3 separate regions of the Homo sapiens genome follow, and regions 1 and 3 are each linked to region 2. The links are contacts of gene promoters, found by promoter capture Hi-C in blood cells and fetal thymus (Javierre and others, 2016). All regions are on one chromosome and are shown on one strand. Each heading gives the region's core, a stretch centred on a gene start or on the middle of the fragment in contact. The rest is flanking DNA. Distances are from core to core; before and after follow the strand shown.

The links. Contacts are between HindIII fragments. The CHiCAGO score rates a contact against its expected background, and 5 or more counts as called.
Region 1: a contact is called between a fragment that was not itself captured here and the fragment with the promoter of COLQ in region 2, in 3 of 17 cell types (M1 macrophages, M2 macrophages and monocytes). The highest score is 7.8, in M1 macrophages.
Region 3: a fragment that was not itself captured here is called in contact with the fragment with the promoter of COLQ in region 2 in 1 of 17 cell types (M1 macrophages); the score reaches 5.7 in M1 macrophages.

What each region holds. Positions count from the first base shown.
Region 1 is chr3:15,271,793-15,275,114 of GRCh38, forward strand. All of the region lies in intron 3 of SH3BP5 (SH3 domain binding protein 5), which reads right to left. Among named protein-coding and RNA genes, the nearest start is that of SH3BP5-AS1, 19 kb to the left of the region's middle. The HindIII fragment of the contact is 9,619 bases long and covers 1-3,322 here.
Region 2 is chr3:15,520,212-15,523,961 of GRCh38, forward strand. COLQ (collagen like tail subunit of asymmetric acetylcholinesterase) reads right to left here and starts at 1,495. Exons shown (of 17, transcript NM_005677.4): 1 at 1,309-1,495. The coding sequence starts at 1,414. The HindIII fragment of the contact is 3,239 bases long and covers 1-3,232 here.
Region 3 is chr3:15,289,208-15,292,829 of GRCh38, forward strand. All of the region lies in intron 3 of SH3BP5 (SH3 domain binding protein 5), which reads right to left. Among named protein-coding and RNA genes, the nearest start is that of SH3BP5-AS1, 37 kb to the left of the region's middle. The HindIII fragment of the contact is 7,378 bases long and covers 1-3,622 here.

The DNA.
Region 1 (3,322 bases), core at 1-2,500, 250 kb before region 2:
AGTAGATACCTTTACCCCAAGATGGGCCATGTGATGGCAGCTGTGTGACTGCATGAGAAATCAGCACTGAAACATCACAGTCACCACTCTACAGGCTCACCTTGAATTCCCCAGCAGGGTAGAAGCCACAAACCCGCCTCTGCAGCGTCCCACCACCCTCCCTCGTCCCACCACCCTCCCTCGGTTAACCACATCCCCAAGTCAGTTACATAAGCCCTGGTGGGACGTCCCTAAGGCAGCCCCTGGGACTCGGGAAGAGGGGAACTACAGGGACCCCACCCTTCCCCAAGCAATTCTTGCATGACTTCGAGGAAGTCTTCAGAAACCACAGGCTGAGGACGCTTTGTGAAGAAGGTTAAAGAAGGGGGAACAAAAAAATCAGAGACTCAGAGCACGCCAGCCCCCAAGGCAAAGAACAGCTTTTCCCGAGCACTCTGTGATTGTGTACTGCATACCAGACCCAGACCCAGCCCTCCAGGCGACGATGACAATCAGATGGAGACCCGAACCAAGCATGGAGTGGACACTCAGAAGTCTGTAATACAACGCTGTATGTGACAGTGCCACAGCAGGAAGGGAGGAATGGCAGGGAATGTGAAGGAGAAATTATTTCCAGTACAAAGAACCAAGGAAGGCCTCTTAAAGGAGGAGGATCCCGAACTCAGGACTAAGGACACAAATGATTTGAAAACATGGGCTGATGAGGTGGGGGACAGAAGGAAGGATTTGAGACTCTAAAGACATTACAAAACAGAGTGCCTGTAGGATAAAGACATTACAAAACAGAGTGCCTGTAGGATAAAGACATTACAAAACAGAGTGCCCGTAGGATAAAGACATATTACAAAACAGAGTGCCTGTAGGATAAAGACATTACAAAACAGAGTGCCTGTAGGATAAAGACATTACAAAACAGAGTGCCTGTAGGAGATTCGATGATACCTCAGATCAAATTTTTAAAAAGGACTCCAGTGAAGACCTTGAATGAATGCCAGGCTAAACCTTCAACCAAAGTGGCCCAGGGACCTGCCCCTGCTGTGGACTCACCATGTGGCCCTGGGACCAGTCGCCCACTTCCACTCAGGTGTGCCTCAGCTACACAAGGAGAACAAGGATGCCCACCCTCCCTAGAGCTGACCAACTCACCCCCCCAACCCCTGCCCCACCTCGTGCCTCCAGGCCCATTAGTGGTTCTTAGTTCTTTCATGTGAGGACAGCCCTGCAGGGCCTCCGCAGGCCAAGCTGCTGGGAACGAGAGGAAGCAGAGGGAACCTGTCACCTTAAAAGCCACTCCACCCCCTACCCATAGGTGGCCTCTCCTACCTATATGCTTCACACCAACTCCAGGAGACAGGATGAATCCCACAGGATCCTAAAATGGGATTTGTATTTGCCTTTTTAGGAATTTTTTAGTATTTCAATTCAGCAACATTTAAGGGTAAACTCTCTTCTCCCAGTTCTCTCTGCTTCAGTTATGAATCCCTTATTTCTTCAAGCAAGAAAAGATGCTCTTTTGACGGCCTTCTGAAAGGTGGCTGCTGTACCACGGGCCCAGCACCTCTTCACACCCTCTGCCATGTATCTGATGAGTTCCAAATAAGAGAACCAGATCTCTACAAAGGAAAAGAGGAAGCCCATGTGAAGCTGCCTTTGAGAAGAACATGTGCTGTCAAATTCCGGACAAGCGTCTGAAGTTTCTGCGAGATTCCTTCTCCTGTACAGTGACATAGGATACATGTTTGCCTTGCCATATCACAGGTACAACTAATGTGAGGCCTCATTCCACATTTAACCCACAGAAACCAGATGCCATCTCTCCATAATTCATGCACTTACCGGTTCATTCACTCAAGTAAGCACTGGGCACCTGTCATGCCCCACTGTCTATTCTCTCTATTCGTTGTGGTCTCAAAGGGAGGCAATATCTCAGCTAAAGACCCTCACTTCCCAGCCCTCACTACAACTGGTCCCTCTGGTAAGTGACAGCTAATGAGAGGTAAATGAACACTGAGTGAGATTTCCAGGAAGGCTCCTGTTATGGACTGAATGTTTGTGCCCACCCAAATTTACATATTGAAGCCCTAATCCCTAATGTGATTATATTAGGAAGTGGGGCCTTTGGGAGCCATATTAGTCCATTCTTGTACTGCTATAAAGAAATACCTATGGGCCGGGCATGGTGGCTCACGCCTGGAATCCCAGCACTTTGGGGAGGCCAAGGCAGGTGGATCACTTGAGGCCAGGAATTCAAGACTAGCCTGCCCAACATGGTGAAACACCGTCTCTACTAAAAATACAAAAAAATTAGCTGGGTGTGGTGGCAGAAGTCTATAGTCCCAGCTACTCGGGAGGCTGAGGCAGGAGAATCACCTGAACCCAGGAGGCGGAGGTTGCAGTGAGCTAAGATCACACCATTGCACTCTAGCCTGGGTGACAGAGCAAGACTCTAGCTCAACAAAAAAAAAAGAAAGAAAGAAAGAAAGAAATACCTGAGACTGCGTAATTTATAAAGAAAAGAGGCTTAATCGGCTCACAGTTCAGCAGGCTGTACAAGAAGCCTGATTCTGGTATCTGCTCAGCTTCTGGGGAGGCCTCAGGATACTTACAATCATGGCAGAAGGCAAAGGGGGAACAGGGCATCTCACAAAGTGCCTGGACTTGGATCCTGGGTGCGGGGAAAGTGCTACACACTTTTTTTTTGTTGGTTGGTTGGTTGTCTGAGACTGAATCTCACTCTATCGCCCAGGCTGGAGTATAGTGGTGCGATCTTGGCTCAATGCAACCTCTGCCTCCCGGGTTCAAGTAATTCTCCTGCCTCAGCCTCCTGAGTAGCTGGGACTACAGGTCCATGCCACCACCACTGGACAGTCTCCCTGCCAGCAATACATGGCAAGAGTAGCTGCTAAGACACCAATAATAATTTTTGTATTTTTAGTAGAGACAGGGTTTCGCCATGTTGGCCAAGCCGGTCTCAAACTCCTGACCTCAGATGATCTACCTGCCTCGGCCTCCCAAAGTGCTGGGATTACAGGGTTGCAGGTGTGAGCCGCCACACCCAGTCGCTACACACTTTTAAACCAGATCTCATGAGAACTCATTGTCCAAACAACAGTGCTTGGGAGGTGGTGCTATACCATTCATGAGCAACAGCCTCCATGATTAAATCATCTCCCGCCAAGCCCCACCTCCAACATCGCTGATTACAATTCGACAGGAGATTTGGGAGGGAGCACAGACCCAAACCTTATCAGGAAGTAATTAGGGTTAGATGAGGTCCTGAGGGTGGGACCCTCATGAGGAGATCAGTGCCCTTGTAAGAAGG
Region 2 (3,750 bases), core at 245-2,744:
TGCTCTTAACTTGAATTTGCAGGGGCATGTGGGCACACACCCACGGTGACACCACCACTCACCTTTCCTGCCCACCCTCCTGAATTCTCCACAAATCTGCCCCCACCTCCTTCTGTTTCTCACACTTTTATAATTAGCCTCACACCAGTCTCTGAGTCACTCCCTCATGGCCCACAAACGTTGGCTACACAACTTGCTGATGAGCTGTTTTTATCAATGGACAGCAGTTGGGAGCTGGATTCAGAGATGTGCCCTCTCTGAGAGCCTGGCATTTCTGGCCCTCCCTGTGTTTCCAGCAAAGGCAGCGATAGTGAAATTTCTGTCTCAGTTGAAGTATTTATGAGACTCATGTTGGAGGCATAACTAAAACTTTGCTGGGGAGAGTCAGGGGTCACTGAGGTGAATTGAGGGGGGCTGTGAGGGTCTGCCTGCCTCCTTCAAGCCCTCCGGAAACATTTGAGTTTCCTCAGAAAGGTTTAAATAGGCCATACTAGTAACCGAATACTTCCCCTGCTCTGGGTCAGACAAGACAAGGGCAACAGGCTGCTGACCTCAGAAAAGGTTGCAGGCTGGCAGACACAGCCCCTTCCCCAAATCTCCCAGCCTCATACCCGGCAGACACACTCAGCTCCAGACCTGGCTGTCACTGTGGAACCCCCTCCACTTCTCCCTGGAAAGCTCACTTCTCTCAGGACCTCCAGCTGCCTTGTCTGAGGCTGAAGGGAAGTCGCACCCAGGAAGACAGGTCTGGAGAAAGGGAAAACCTAGTCCTGAGGCTGCAACTGCCCCGCCGCTGTTCACCCCCCACCCCACCGGCCCCTGCCACCTGCATTTTCCCTTCGAGGGACTATTGTGGCCATGGATGCTATCTGGGTCTGGAAAGAGGTTTGTTTACTCCACAACAGCCCCTGTGAGGCAAGCCCCCTTCGAAGAGGTCAGAGATGTATTTATAGAAACATCTGAGACTCACTTCTCTATTACTTGCACACCTCTGTCTCTTTTAAGCTCTCCCAAATTCCTGACCAAGATGAAATCATGCAGCAAATGGGGAGAATAGGGGAGGCAGAAACCATTTTTCAAAGTGTCTCTGCTTTGAGCAGCCAGGTAGGAGCCGGTTGGAACAAGGACAGAAGGGGCTTCCGAGACAAGCTCGGGTGACAGGAAGCTGCTGGGGTGGCCGTCTTCCTTCCAACCTCCCTCCACCAACAGTTGAATGGCAAAAACATCAGGACACATTGCAAAACAATCTTCCTTCCTCCCCCTGTCCCCTGACAGATGGAAGAGAGGAAAGTTGTGGCCATCATTTACCTGCTGAGATTGGAAGAACGCTGTTGATGAAAGTCGGCTGAGACACGATAGAGAGGAAGAAAAGCTGAAGATAAATTCCCAAAGTCATTGGATTCAGGACAACCATGCTGGCCAGGGTCTGGCGAGGGTCAAGTTAGAAAGGAGGCTGCTGCGGAGCCTTGCTTATCTCTGCTTTTCTCTTCCTCACTGCTGTTTGCGTGCGCGTGTGTTTGTGTGTGTGTGTGTGCGTGTGTGTGTGTGTCTGTGTGTGTGTGTGTCTTTCCCTCTTTCTCTTTCCCTCTCCCTCCTCCTCACCCCCTCCCTCTCTCTCCCTCCCCCACCTCTCCTGTCTCCCATGCCTTTACCAAGAAAGAATGCCAACCATTTCCCATTAAACTGTCTCCATGCTACAGAGAGTTATATTTATCTCAAGCTCCATATCAAATGCCCACATTAAAATTAAGATGTCAAAATTTTCTTTTTTGGAGACTGAGGTAAGTGGCTAGTGAAGAGGTGATGAGAAGGCAGCCAAGTCTCAGATGTTCACTGGAGGCAGTCCTCAAGGGCAGAGAGATTCCTAATTGGTTATGTGCCACCATCTACCTCCTTGGAACTGGGCAGAAACAACTCTCCTGATTCAAACTGAATTTCATGGAGAAAAACCCCTCCACTGTCAGCCTGTGACATTTTTACCCATTGTGTAACAAATGTAAAGTTAACTTTTAATTTTTTTCTTTAATCATCCAATAAAAAGGAGGAAGGAAGTAGTTTATATTTCCAAACAGCTTTCTCTGTGAAAAAGTGTTTCTCTCTCCAAAAGCTGCAACCTTTTGATTCAATGCAAGGCAAAATAAATGAAAACAGTAAAAGTATAGAAAAGTGAATGATTTTTATCAAACTATATTCAGAAAAATAACATCACTAACTTAATCTTTGGCTAGACAAAATTATTCAAATAAAAATTATCACATTCTTAATACCTTTTATGAGTTTATAAAAGCCTGTTATAGAGATGATTAGATGACTAAAACAAAATAATAATTCACAGAGTTGTTCATTTTGCTTTAATTTACATATTACATGCCTCATAGGAGTTAACTCAGAAACAGTCTGCTAGTTACTGGATGCTGGGGTGGGCATCCTGCCCCTGTGCTCATTATGGGGAAGGTGGAGTTGGGTCAGGGCGTGGTATAAAGTGATATTTTACAGCTGTAGCACCACACTTGGGCTTGACTCTCAGCTCTGAGTGGCAGTGGACAAGCTCACCTCTCTAAGCCTCAGTTTTCTCATCCATACAATGGAGACAATGTTCCCTTTAAAGGTTTGTTGGAAAGTTAAGTGAGGTAATGGGGATGAATCCTACACGGATTAGAACTTGCACATAGGAACAGCACAAAGGAGACCCAAGGGAGCCATGGTAGCCTGGGTGCAAAGATGGCCTCCAAAAGTCCTCCCAACCCAGTGTGTGCATGACACTCTTCCCAGCAAAAAGCAGGGCTAGTTCCCCTCCCTTAAATCTGAGGTGGCTCTGTGACTTACTTTGACCAATAGAATGTGGCTAAAGGGACACTGTGCCATCTCCTGGCCTAGGCCTTAAAAGGCCTGGCAGCTCCTGCTTTTGCCTTTTCTTGAAAATCAGCTGCCACTTTAAAAAGTCTGGACTATTGAAGAGGCCACATGGAGGGGGAAGCAGCCAGCCTCCAGCTGTTCTGACTATCCCAGATGCAGCATCAACAGGCGAGTGAGGCCATTTTGGAACATCTAGCCCTGTCCTGGTCTCAGATGATGCCAGCCACAGGAGTGACCCCAAGTGAGACCCTCGAAAGAACTGCCCAGCCCAGATTACGAAGTCATGAGCAAATAAAACGGCTATTGTTTCAAACCAGTAAGTTTTAGGATGACTTGCTCATCAGCAATAGCTAACTGATACAGAGTTGATAAGGAAAGCTTTTGAAAGCATGAAAAATATACCTGAACTACATTCAAAATTTATAGGACAGATTAAAGAGAGGGTACCCCCATTTAGCTGCTCCCAAAATTTTTACAAGAAGGAGCTGTGATTGCTGGCCAAACTCAATCAGGACATTCTCAGGCTCACTCTTGTTAACTCCTGGAGCCCCAGCAGCCAGCTTCCAGTGGCTTGGAGAAGGTACAGTCTACCTGGGAGGAAGGTATCTTTTGAGTAACTTGGTGTCAGAATATGAATTTTTACTATCTAGCTCAGATTCCTCCTCTGCAAAGCCAGTATGACTTCTTCCTTCTCTCAGCACAAAGAATTCACCACTGACCATACCCTTGGAACAAATTCTGTCAATACGTCCTACCGGTGACACCTGCTGCTATTGTTTTTGAACACCACCTTGTGTTGCTATTTAGCTGGCATTAACATCCCTAAAGATAGGGGACTATCCCACAGCTCTATGTACTCTCAAGGCCCCCAGGACAGTCCTTGTCACCTAACAG
Region 3 (3,622 bases), core at 1,110-3,609, 230 kb before region 2:
CTTAAAACAACCTTGCCTGGCTAGCTAAAAGACTCCAAGTCAAGCCTCCCTTGCAGCTACCTGTGACTACCTGACCAAGTTCTAGCAATGAATGGAAAATGTGTTGTCTGGGACTCCCAAGTAGACTCTTTAAAATAGAAGGGACATATATCCCTTCCTCATTTCCTCCTTCTGTCCTGAAATGCAGATGTGATGGCTGGAGTTCCTGGAGCCATCTTCAACCACAAGGTGACGTGGAAGATTGGACTCAAATATTAGGATGTGAGCAGCAAACAGAACACTCGGTTTCAGTGACCATGAAATCACAGCACTAATTCCGGACTGCCTAATTTAGGTCCTCTGTTAGTTGAGAGACGGAATCCTTGTGTGTTTAGGCCATATTTTTGAGTTCTGTTGCTTACGATCAAACATAATTCCTAACTGATAGATGATACAGCTATTATTTTGTGCACAAACAATGTAGATTTCAAAATTTCAGGCCACATACCTTCACCCATATATTTTCCTATGGCCTTGGGTGTTGATATGGGGCTAGGCAGAAGAGGAGCCTACATAAACTAATACGGCATCTTACACCTCATGATTTCCTTCCAACAGCTGCTCTCAATAAAGGGCCCACTGTAGATACCTTCTACCACCTTGGATGAGTGCCCAGGTCAGTGTGAAAACAGACACCCCCCCTTCTCTACATAAGGAGAACCTTCACTAAGCTGGCCTTACCCTGAGATCAAGAGACTTAAAGAATGCAAAAACCTCAGAAGATTTTGATATGCCACTGCTTTTAGAAATAACACCAAGCACTTTCTCTGGGGTGTGGTGCTTTGACAAAGGGCTGGGGCATACACTTGGGGCTGACAGTGAATTGATGAGCACAGGGCATCTTTTTTTACTTCCATTTAAACCACTTCCTCAGGCCGGGCACGGTGGCTCACACCTGTAATCCCAGCACTTTGGGAGGTCAAGGCAGTTGAGGTCAGGAGTTTGAGACCAGCCTGGCCAACATGACAAAACCCCGTCTCTTCTAAAAATACAAAAATTAGGCTGGGCGCGGTGGCTCACGTCTGTAATCCCAGCACTTTGAGAGGCCAAGGCGGGCAGATCACGAGGTCAGGAGATGGAGACCACCCTGGCTAACAGTGAAATCCCATCTCTACTAAAAATACAAAAAATTAGCTGGGCATGGTGGCTCACGTCTGTAATCCCAGCTACTTGGGAGGCTGAGGCAGGAGAATTGCTTAAACCTGGGAGATGGAGGTTGCAGTGAGCCGAGATTGCGCCACTGCACTACAGCCTGGGCAACAGAGTGAGACTCTGTCCCAAAAAAAAAAAAAAAAAAAAAAAATTAGCCGGGTATGGTGGCACACACTCATAATCCCAGCTACTTGGGAGGCTGAGGCAGGAGAATCACTTGAACCTAGGAGGTGGAGCTTGCAGTGAACTGAGATCGTGCCACTGCGCTCCAGCCTGGGTGACAGAGCAAGACTCCGTCTCAAAAATAAAAATAAACCACTTACCCAAAATGAAACCTACAAAGTGAGGCTTCCTAACCAGAGCCCATCATTGCCTTAACTGAAGCAAACAGGTGCTCCATCCTCCATGAGAAGGTAAACTCCCCCCATGCCCATGAAAGTTTTAAATGGAAGAAACTAATAAATATCAAACTAATAAAGGCCATCGAGAATGGAGAAGGGGAAAGAACTGGTGGGAGGCAGAAACAGGAAGTGGCTGGAGAAGACAGGGGAAGACACAGCTGAGGAACCCACATTCCAGAAGATTCTTCAGAAGAGACCCAGTTGATGTGGCCTCCCATGAAGCCCTTCGGAATTCTACCGGGAGCTGACCAGCTCTCAGCAAAACCAAGCTAGTGAGGGTTGGGGTGGACAGAAAAAAATACTAGACCCAGCTCCTTATCTTAGAAACTCAATTTCGTCCCAGAAACACCAGGCTTGGGAGTAGCTAGAACAGCAGCATGAGCATTCGCATGCTTTTTAGTATCACTCAACTCTCCTGTCTGTGTTCACTTGTGCCCACTCAAGGCTACAGGCTAAGGAATGACAAAGTGGGAGCCAGGGTTCCTCCACAGCTCCACATGCTGTGGATTCAGGAACCCCAAGACAGGGCAGCTGACCCCAAAACTACTTTCTCTCTCTGGCTGATCAACACTACAAATTCCCTTTTGGTAGGGCTGCCAGATTTAGCAAATAAAAATATAGGCCTTCCAGTTAAATCTGAATTTCAGGTAAACAATTTTTTTAGCTTATGTACCAAATATGGCATAGAACAAATTTATACCTAAAAAAAAAAATCTGAAATTTAACTGGGTGTTCTGTATTCCCATGTTCTATCCGCCAATCTTACTTCTGGCTTAAACTCCACAAGGACATCCCACTGGGTAGAAATGAAAAGTCTACCTACAGCCTGCACTTCTAAGCATTTCCCACTTAGTGTAAAGGGTGTAGTTCTGTCTCTCACATGTGCAGAGGTTCCCACAGCATGATGAACCCTGAGTTGGGAATATGCAGTCCCACCAGGTTGGAAGCAGGGTATTCCAAGCTATGGGAATGTTTGTAAGTCAGAACCACTTGAAGCCCCAGAGACCATAAATCTCTAAGTCTTATCAGTCATTTACTTCTCAGCATGAATAATTTCATCAGATTCTTCAGGGTAGATTTTCATAGAAGTCACAACTGGAAGGGCTGGGGAAGAAGTAGAAAAGAAAGGAAGGAAAGCAGGGGCATCCTCTGAGTCAGGAAAGGAACAGAAGGTGCACCAAGAGTGCACAGCCGGGGCCCAAACCTCGTCACCAGGCAACATAAAAAGGCCAGCCTGTGTCGACAAAACTCGTAGCAGAAACACAACCTATGCTCTGATTTCCTTTCACTGAAAAATTAATCACTCTGCCACTCTTGCCAGGGAATGCCTGTGGTTTACAGAGGGGAAGGGGCTATCCATGTCCATGCAATCACTTTACTGAAAGCAGAGTACAGTTGAGAAGAAGGAAGGAAACATCTGAAGAGCATCATGGTTTCAGGGAACCAAACTCCACACCCTGTTTCCCCTCTAACCACTATGCTGTGGTGACAAACCACACCTGTTAGCTTCACAGAGAACACTGCCTGCCCAGCAGCACCAAGGGGGGCTCAGCCATGCCTCTGTGAATAGCAAAGGAGATAAGAAAAAGGGAGTTGCCCATGACAAACCTCCCAACTAACAAGGTGATGGAGGGCAGCTCCTCCAGCCCAGTGCTTCCTGGCTAAGACCTGCCTGCAACCAGTCCCCCACGCGGACTTCCTGCCACCTGCCAGACAGAATGGGGTTGAATGCAAATGGTTCATGGCATCACCAGAAAAGAAAACCTAAGCCAGGCGCGGTGGCTCATGCCTGTAATCCCAGCACTTTGGGAGGCCAAGGTGGGTGGATCACCTGAGGTCAAGAGTTTGAGACCAGCCTGACCAACATGGAGAAACCCCATCTCTACTAAAAATACAAAATTAGCTGGGCGTGGTGGCGCATGCCTGTAATCGCAGCTACTCGGGAGGCTGAAGCAGGAGAATTGCTTGAATCCGGGAGGCGGAGGTTGTGGTGAGCCGAGATCACACCATTGCACCCCAGCCTGGGCAAC